3 separate regions of the Homo sapiens genome follow, and all the other regions are linked to region 3. The links are contacts of gene promoters, found by promoter capture Hi-C in blood cells and fetal thymus (Javierre and others, 2016). All regions are on one chromosome and are shown on one strand. Each heading gives the region's core, a stretch centred on a gene start or on the middle of the fragment in contact. The rest is flanking DNA. Distances are from core to core; before and after follow the strand shown.

Region 1 (2,712 bases), core at 77-2,576, 190 kb before region 3:
TTGTTCTAAAACTGTAATGGCCTAACAATGCACAATACATGGAATGAGTTCAGGACAGAAATGGCATCTTCCCCAGCATGTTCGGTCTTCATCTGTTGCCAGCATATTCAGCCACGGACATAAACAGAACTACAGGTTCTTTTCTATTAACCTCATTTCAGTATCATAAAAATGATACACTATATAATGTAAAAGCTCTTAGGGAGTCTCAGCCTCTGAGTTTTCAGTGGCAGGCCTGCCTGAGCTCAGTGGGCCTGTGTGGTAAATCATAAGTTAAGGACTAGCAGATGCTGGTTCCTACCTGTCGTTTCTCCCCCTCATGCTTCTCTGTGTCTGAGTGCTGTTGCAGGCGGTTCAGGCACTCCGTCCTCTCTGCAGAAAGTCGCTCAACCATCAGCTTGTCCAAAACACGCATCTAGGAGTGAAGTGGAGCAGAGTGTAAGACTGAGATGATCTCAGGGTGAGCCCTGGCTTCTCAGCTCCTGCAGAGGGGCTTGGGGAACCAAGTAGGAGCCCCTGCATGCAAACTTCAACCCCTTATCTGATTCCATTTGCATGTAGGACTCATGGAACTCTTTCAGAATTCTTGAGCATGTTTCTATGAGGCCAACGTTTCGTTTTTTAAAAAATCTTATTTGTTAAAGTTTAAGAGGTATAAGGACTATGAATATACAGGCCAGGCGTGGTGCGCCATACTCCCACCACCTGAGGTCAGGAGTTTGAAACCAGCCTGGCCAACATGGCGAAACCCCATCTCTACTAAAAATACAAAAATTAGCCGGGTGTGGTGGCACATGCCTGTAGTCCCAGCTACTTGGGAGGCTGAGGCAGGAGAATCATTTGAACCTGGAAGGCAGAGGTTGCAGTGAGCCAAAAAAAAAAAAAAGAGAGAGAGACTCTGAATATCCAGTAAATACACAACCTGAGCCCATGCAGGCCTTGTAGGCCTTAAAACATTATTTCCCAGACTACTGTAAGAAAAAACTACATCTCAAAGTATGGAGATTTTTCTCTTCCCCAACCCCACTTTAAAAAATGTTAGTGGTTGCCTACAAGGCAGTAAAATGAGCTTTTATCCGGCTCTTGCAGTGAGCAAATATTTTTGGTGCTTCATTGGAAGTAGCTAAAGTACGTAAGAAGAGTGTAGAAGGAACTTAAAGGATTGCTTCAGAGAACAAGCAGTTGTCACTTTTTAATCACATGCCCTTCTGGAGTACCCTTCATCTTGGCATTTCCTGTGGGACCCCTACACCTAGGAGGGCCAAACTTTCACTGCTTTGACAAGGACCAAAGAATGAAAGGAACTATTGTTAGGAAGAGCCAATCCGCGAAGGCTCACTGGTGAGCTCCCCTCCTGTCAGGGACACACGTGGCATTCCACACCCAGATGTTCAAAACATTAAGAAAAAAGAAACATCCGTTCTGGAGACGTGGTGAGCACCTTCTGTTTTTCTCTTCAGTCCATGTTTTCCTGTGACCTGTGCTCCTCCTGTTTTCTAGGATTGGCCTACTCTCCCCACTCCCTTAACCTCTTCCTCCAGGTGGCTGTTTTCAAGAGCAGCCATAGGTATACATTGCTTTGTTCACAGGTCACACTAACTGGCTCGGGTATGAGCATCTGACTCAAGGGTGCCACGGTCCTTTCTTGGTGATTTGGAAGGAGGACTAAGATTCTACACCCCAATCTGTCACTCCCTTGAACTGAAGTGAGGCCCTTGAGGTATCCCAACATTCATCTCTCATTCCTCTTTCAGCTTAGGCTAGGCGAAGTGGGGTTTTTATATACAAAACAGTCTTCACTAATCTATTATTGACCTAAGAAAATATTTTTAAAATGGCCTTTCTATAAAATACAGATAGCAAATAAGCCTTAAAAATGTTTCATCTTACCAGTAAACAAGGAAATAAAACTTAAACAGTAAAATGTCCTTAATCAATTTGGCAAAAACTTTTTTAAAAAAAGGGCAGGGCATGGTGGATCACACCTAAAATCCCAGCACCTTGGGAGGCCAAGGCAGGCGAGGCGCTTGAGCCCAGGAGTTTGACACCAGCCTAGCCAACGTGGTGAAACCCCGTCTCTACCAAAAAAATACAAAAATTAGGTGGGCATGGTGGCGTCCGCCTTAGTCCCAGCTACTCAGCAGACTGAGGTGGGAGAATCGCTTGAACCCAGGAGGCAGAGGCTGTAGTGAGCTGAGATTGCCACACTGCACTCTAGGTGACAGAGTCAGACCCCATCTAAAAAAAAAAAAAAAAAAAAGTTGTAACAAATACTATTTTACGAAAACCGAGAAAATCTGAATATGGGCTGGATAACGTTTTCTCAGGTGTGAAAGCAATATTGTTATGAAGTTGAAAGTGTTATTCTTATTCTAAACATTCTGAAATATTTAGAGATGCCCTGTCAGGACAGTCTGCAACTAAATCTGAAATAGTTCAAGAGTTAAAAAAACATGTGTGTCAGAGAGACAAGGCAAATGCAGCAACATATTAACTGGCTGACTACAGGGATTATATACAAGCATTCACTCCATTATTCTGTGAACTTTTCTGTATGTTTGAAAACTTTTAAAATAAAAAGTTGGGAAAAGAAAAAAATACATAATTATTCTAATTTTGTATGCAATGGGAAAGGAGTGTAGCAAAAATTGACATATAAAAAGATTGACATATAAAAAAACTCAAAAAAGATAAACTCTAATTTTTTTTTTT
Region 2 (2,700 bases), core at 88-2,587, 240 kb before region 3:
TCTGCCTATACTAATATGCATTTTTGTGAGAACCACCTGCATTTGAGTATATAAGTTTTGTTTTTGTTCTTAGCATTCTAAGATTTTCTCCAAGCTTAATACAGATGAGATGTACTTGAGGAAGATATGAATTTACAAACTGAAGATGGGGTCTAGATTTCTTATAAACAATTAAGAGTTCTTAGTTCCGAGTCTCTGAAATACTGGAAAGAGGTAAAAAGTGGAAGCCAAGCCTAATGCCTTGTATCAAGAGGATAAATATGTTTATCTGTAGTAATGATAAGTAACAGTAATAATAATAATAATAAAAAGTAATAATAAGTAAAAGAATGAGTCTCAGGTTTCTCCGCCTCTGGTGGGCACCAGGCCAGCCTTAACATTCCATTGCTTCTTGGAGAAAACACTGTATACTAAAGATAGTGGCAGGAAAATGTGTGGTTCGGGTGCCTTGAGATTTGGCTCAGCTGGATTTGTCCATTTGTACCGTAGCTTTTGTCTGACAGGCTGTAGAATGACTTTGGCCTTTCAAACCTTTGTCTGTTGCGGGTAGGAATGGTTCTGATATGTGCAGAATGTTGGGAGCCCTGTGGCTATCCCAGACGTAGCAGCTGCAATGATATACTCTGGTAAGGGCATCTGAAACTCCCTCCTATGTGGTCGTATTCTTTGTCTATTTCTGAATGTCTCTCATTTAAATAATGTAGTTCAATGGGAAAATTAAGCAAGTAAGCCAAACTGTATTTTCCTATCAACATTCTGAGAATATATGTCCTAAAAGTGGGTTTGGCTTGTTAAAAATTTTTCTAAGTGTCCAAATTGTATTCATATCTTTTCTGAGTAGTTCAAGGGAACTTGAGAGTAGGTTAGACAGTGCTAAGATAATAGATCTAGGCTGTAATTAAAGCTCTTGATCCGCAGGAAGCTGTTTCTGTGTAACCAAGTCATAATTAGTGTTTACTGGTTTGGGATCTTAATTCCTTGCTAATTAGCAGCTTATTTTTTTGTGCATTCCCATCCTCAGATATATCTTCATAGTATATATTTTCTCTTACAAAATTAAACTTTCTGATTGAGAGTCACTACTACTTTTTCTTTTTACTTCTGCTCAGCAGGCTAGTATTCTTCTCAGGTTATTTTCCTGTATAAAATAGTTTTTTTCAACATTTCACAGTTATTACTATGTCTGACTGTGTTCTCTCCAGAGCCTGTTCTGCCCTTACTCAAGGACTTTTTCCAAAATACTGTCCTTCTAGTATACTTCATTTAGGTTTTTGTCTTGGCAAAGTGACAAATGACCACATGCCAGAGGCTTCTACAAAGTCAAGTCATATGTTAAATCTGATGTCAAGCTGTGAAACTGCATAACTATTAGCACCAAAGAGGAGAAGAATGTCAGAAGTCTCCTGTACTTCCAGCGGATTTAAGATAATGAGCTAGAAAAAGAATTCAGTATGTGTTTAAATTGTTTTCCTGTGGCAAGAATGAAATCTCCTTTTAAAATTGCTTTTGTGCCTAATTGTTCACTTCCTTTTTCTTTTTTCTAAGGGATTTTGCTTGCCCAAAGAATTTATGGAAGATTCAGCTGGAGAGGGAGCAACTGAGTTCCATGACTATGAGGGAGGTGGAATTGGAGAAGGCGAGGGCATGAAGGATGTGAGTGACCAGATCGGAAATGAAGAACAGGTACGTTTTCACATAGGTATACAGTTGACAGAAGATCACTCTCTTTCTTTTCAACATGTAAGTTACACATAAAAATGGTTTTTACTAGGTTAATAATTTTTAATCTGTGATCTACAGAGCCCTAGATATATTGGTGCTTCGGCAGTGGGTGTAAATAAAAAGCCTAAAATCCACAGGAAGGAACCTGGCAACTCCATCATTGGTTTTGGCTATAATTATGGAGGAAATGATTTTTACTTTTTTTTTTTAAATGGGCAGATATTTACTGATGATTTTCTAGAGTATTTTTGATAGTATTTTTAAGCATAAAAGGCCTGGCTATCTTAAGTGATAATTGCATTAAACAATAATGCCAAAATTTGCTGTTAATAGGTTTTACTGTTGTATATCTTTAAGGCATAGAGTGTTTTAAAAAATCTGTATCCTTTTTTGGTTGGAATCAAGCAACCTTCTGAACTATTCAGATGCTGTGAACTAAGATTGTTACATTGCTTGGATTTTTTAAATGCCTGTCTCATTTGTGAGTGATTTATGTGTATTGGGTGTATCACTTATATTCTAAGTTAAATCAGATCAGAAACTTGTATTTAAGGTAATTTTATAGTTATTAAAAATAAAGGAGAAAACCAATTCAAATTCCCTCCCTTCCTTGGCAGAGAAAACTGGAAAGCAATTAAAAGCCAAAAGAATAATGCTAGTATTTATGTTATGGAGCTCTAATTTTTTTTTTTTGGACCTATATTGTCCTTAGATAATTGCTTTGTTATTTTGGCCTTCTGTATTTCTCAAATCTAAATCAGTGTATACTACTTTTCTAGTAGAAAAAAAAAGTCAAAAGCAAAAGCAAATCTAATAGAAAAGTTCACACAAAAAACATTACATGGAATAAAAAGCTTCCAGAACAATTTGGTAGTGTCTGCTGAATTTTAAATTATGTGTATTCATTGACCCCCAAATTCCATGTTTTCTTATAGAAATGCTAGTGTCAAAGATAAATAGGTATATGAGTGTGTATAT
Region 3 (2,884 bases), core at 89-2,588:
AAAACCCCGCCAAGGCTGCTATTGGTGTTTTGGGGATGAGAAACCCCCAATCAGTATACCATGGATGGGACCACCTTGGACCCAGGTGTGTTTGTCTTCATTGCCCAAGTTCTTTCCACTTACACTGGCCTAACAGAACCTAAGCATGAATGAATTCAACATCCAACAGGTTCGCAAAAGGTGTCTAACACACAAGAGTACAATGCCAAGCATTTCATTCCCATCACTTCACTGCATGAACACAATACTACGAGGTTATGTACAATACCTGCAGTTTAGAGTTCTAAAAACTAAGGTTTAAAGAAGTGGGTTTTCCAAAGTCACACACCTAACAAGTGGTGGAGTCAGAACTCCATCTCACGGGCCCGAAGTGGCTCTTTACTACCACGTGACCCATCTCATGCTACCTCGCGGGGGAAACATTCTTGACCAGCTTTGAGACATTCAAGTCCCTCTTGGGTCACAAATAATGCTGCACTTCCCCTCCAGTCCCCGAGATCTACCGGAAGCAACACACTTAAAAGCCCAAGATAAGCTTGGGTGAGCTGATGTCTGGACCCAAACCAGACAGCACGCCGACTCTCTGGACCCCGGGAGATGCCACTTGCTGAGGCTTCGCCGATGGGGCTCCTGAGGGGTATCGGCCCCTCTCCTGCGACTGCACCCTAGTGCTGTCGTCCAGGGCGGGGAGGGACGGGGTCATTCGGAGGCGGCCGCAGGCCAGGGACCTACCCTCCTACGCGCCGCAGACCGCGGGGTACTCGGACCCCCGCCCCCACCGCCCTTCCTTCAAACTGCAAGCGAGCAGGAGAACGAGGGACGAGCCCCAGAAGAAAGTTCTCCACCTCCCTCGCCCGAAGTTCCATATTCCAGGGAGGCAACTGATGCCAGGCGAAGAGGGAGGCGCCCCGGGGGGACCCCCTCGCGCCGGGCGTTTTCGGAGGCCGCAGGCCAGGGGGCGAGGCGCGGTGTCCGGGTCTCCTCCGCGGGCAGTCGGCGATCCTGGGGTGCCGAGGGAGCAGCGCCCCCTTCCCCCGACAGCGTCCTCCCCGACCTGAGGCGCCCACCCCGGTGTAAGCGGGGGTCCCAGGGAGCCGGCGAGGTCGCCTGGTACCTTTCTCTCCCGCGCCGGACGTCCGCGCCGCAGGGACCAAGGCCGGCGACACGGTGGGGGGCGAGGGGCGAAGACGGGGACTGGCTCCCGCTGGCTCCGGCGGCCCCAGGGCCTCGGCGCCGCCCAGCGCCGTGCCTCCAGCCGCCCGCGCGCCAGGCAGCGCTCTCGGCTCCTGCGGGTTACCTGTGGCCGAGCCCGCCGCGTCCGCCGCCGCAGGGCCCTCTGCCCCGTCCCGCCGGCCCCGCCCCACCCCTGCCGGCGGCTCCTACGCCGGTGCCGCAGCGCCTCCCAGCGGCGAGCCGGGGCACGGCAGGGACCCTCGCGAGAGAGAGGTGGCACCGCGGAGGCCCTGGGGCTGGCCCCGATCTGCAGCCCTCTCCTGGGTGGGGCCACCGCCTTCTGAAGAGTGGGAGGAAGGGGGCCTATAGTAGGGTGAGGTTTTCCGCGTGGGGGTTGCCAGGAAGTGTATTGGGAGGGGAGGAGAATTAGCAGGAGGAACCTCCCACCTTCACTCAATTCGTGGCCAAGTGGATATTTCAATATAACCATAGCTCACTTAACTGGGGCTGCTCAGTACAAACTGAACAACAATGATGAATGACCCAGATTTATTGGGGTAGCTGGAGAGGGGAAAGGAAGCCTTTATTTCTAACAGCTTGACTATAAGTATCTTGTTGGAATCATCCCATATGGAAATGGCAAAAGCATTGAGCGAGCCTGACCCCCATATTCATATCACACTTTACATACCATTATCTCAGTCTGGTTTTGTCTATTTTCATTCACAGCCACTTCTTCAATACCTAGAAGAGCTCCCTGAACACAGGAAGCATTCAATAAGCTACTGTTGAATACATGTAAGATGGATGGGATCTCATTCCACCCTTTGAAGAAGCATGGACAGGTATCTGCTCTCCAAAGGCGGAGAGATGGAAGAGGAGGCAAGCAGCACCCTAAAATGGACTATCAATCTTACCTGAGGTTTTGGGACAAGCTTATCACGAATCTGATTTTTTTTTCTTTCTTGCTTAAAATTTTTTTTTGAGACGAAGTCTCACTCTGTCACCCAGGCTGGAGTGCAATGGCACCATCTAGGCTCACTGCAACCTCCGCCTCCCAGGTTCAAGTGATTCTCCTGCCTCAGCCTCCTGAGTAGCTGGGATTACAGGTGCCCGCCACCATCCCTGGCTAATTTTTGTATTTTTAGTAGAGATGGGGTTTCACCATATTGGTCAGGCTGGTCTCGAACTCCTGACCTCGTGATCCTCCAGCCTCGGCCTCCCAAAGTGCTGGGATTACAGGCATGAGCCACTGCACCCAGCCGACTTTTCTTATTCCCTCTGAAACAGGCCTGGTTTCCAGGAGAAAAGAAACATGATGATTTCTTCCTTTTCCTTAAGATGTTTGTTTCCCTCTCTCCTTCAGGGATCATTAGGCAGGAGAGATCCCAAGAGCCTGTTTCCACACTAGGAAGGGGAAGTTCTTGATTTTCTCCTACTGCTTCTGAAATTTTCCCAACCCCATAGTCACAGCTGCAGTTTTACCTAACAGGATGTGAAATCTCTCTTCTGAGTATCCTTTGGCCTTTTCCAGACTTTTTTTTCCCCCTTAAGATGGGGCCTTGCTGTGTCACCCAGGCTGAAGTGCAGTAGCCCACTGCAGTCTTGAACTCCTGGGCTCAAGCAATCCTCCTGCCTCTGCCTCCTGAATAGTTGGGATTACAAGTGTGCACCACCATGCCCAGCTAATTTTTTTATGTTTAACACAGAG

What was found. The method cuts DNA at HindIII sites, captures the fragments that hold promoters and counts their contacts. A CHiCAGO score of 5 or more calls a contact.
Region 1: a fragment that was not itself captured here is called in contact with the fragment with the promoter of ANKRD6 in region 3 in 5 of 17 cell types (M2 macrophages, M1 macrophages, erythroblasts and 2 more); the score reaches 8.3 in M2 macrophages.
Region 2: a contact is called between a fragment that was not itself captured here and the fragment with the promoter of ANKRD6 in region 3, in 1 of 17 cell types (M2 macrophages). The highest score is 5.9, in M2 macrophages.

What each region holds. Positions count from the first base shown.
Region 1 is chr6:89,625,286-89,627,997 of GRCh38, reverse strand. ANKRD6 (ankyrin repeat domain 6) reads right to left here. Exons shown (of 16, transcript NM_001242809.2): 14 at 302-415. Among named protein-coding and RNA genes, the nearest start is that of MDN1-AS1, 12 kb to the left of the region's middle. The HindIII fragment of the contact is 5,002 bases long and covers 1-2,712 here.
Region 2 is chr6:89,666,997-89,669,696 of GRCh38, reverse strand. MDN1 (midasin AAA ATPase 1) reads left to right here. Exons shown (of 102, transcript NM_014611.3): 84 at 1,546-1,683. All of the region lies in intron 1 of MDN1-AS1 (MDN1 antisense RNA 1), which reads right to left. Among named protein-coding and RNA genes, the nearest start is that of LYRM2, 30 kb to the right of the region's middle. RefSeq lists a silencer at 1,193-1,487. The HindIII fragment of the contact is 2,482 bases long and covers 97-2,578 here.
Region 3 is chr6:89,431,606-89,434,489 of GRCh38, reverse strand. ANKRD6 (ankyrin repeat domain 6) reads right to left here and starts at 1,338. Exons shown (of 16, transcript NM_001242809.2): 1 at 1,115-1,338. LOC124901360 (a long non-coding RNA gene) reads left to right here. Exons shown (of 2, transcript XR_007059675.1): 1 at 1-1,073; 2 at 1,903-2,884. RefSeq lists a silencer at 1,067-1,546. The HindIII fragment of the contact is 1,573 bases long and covers 538-2,110 here.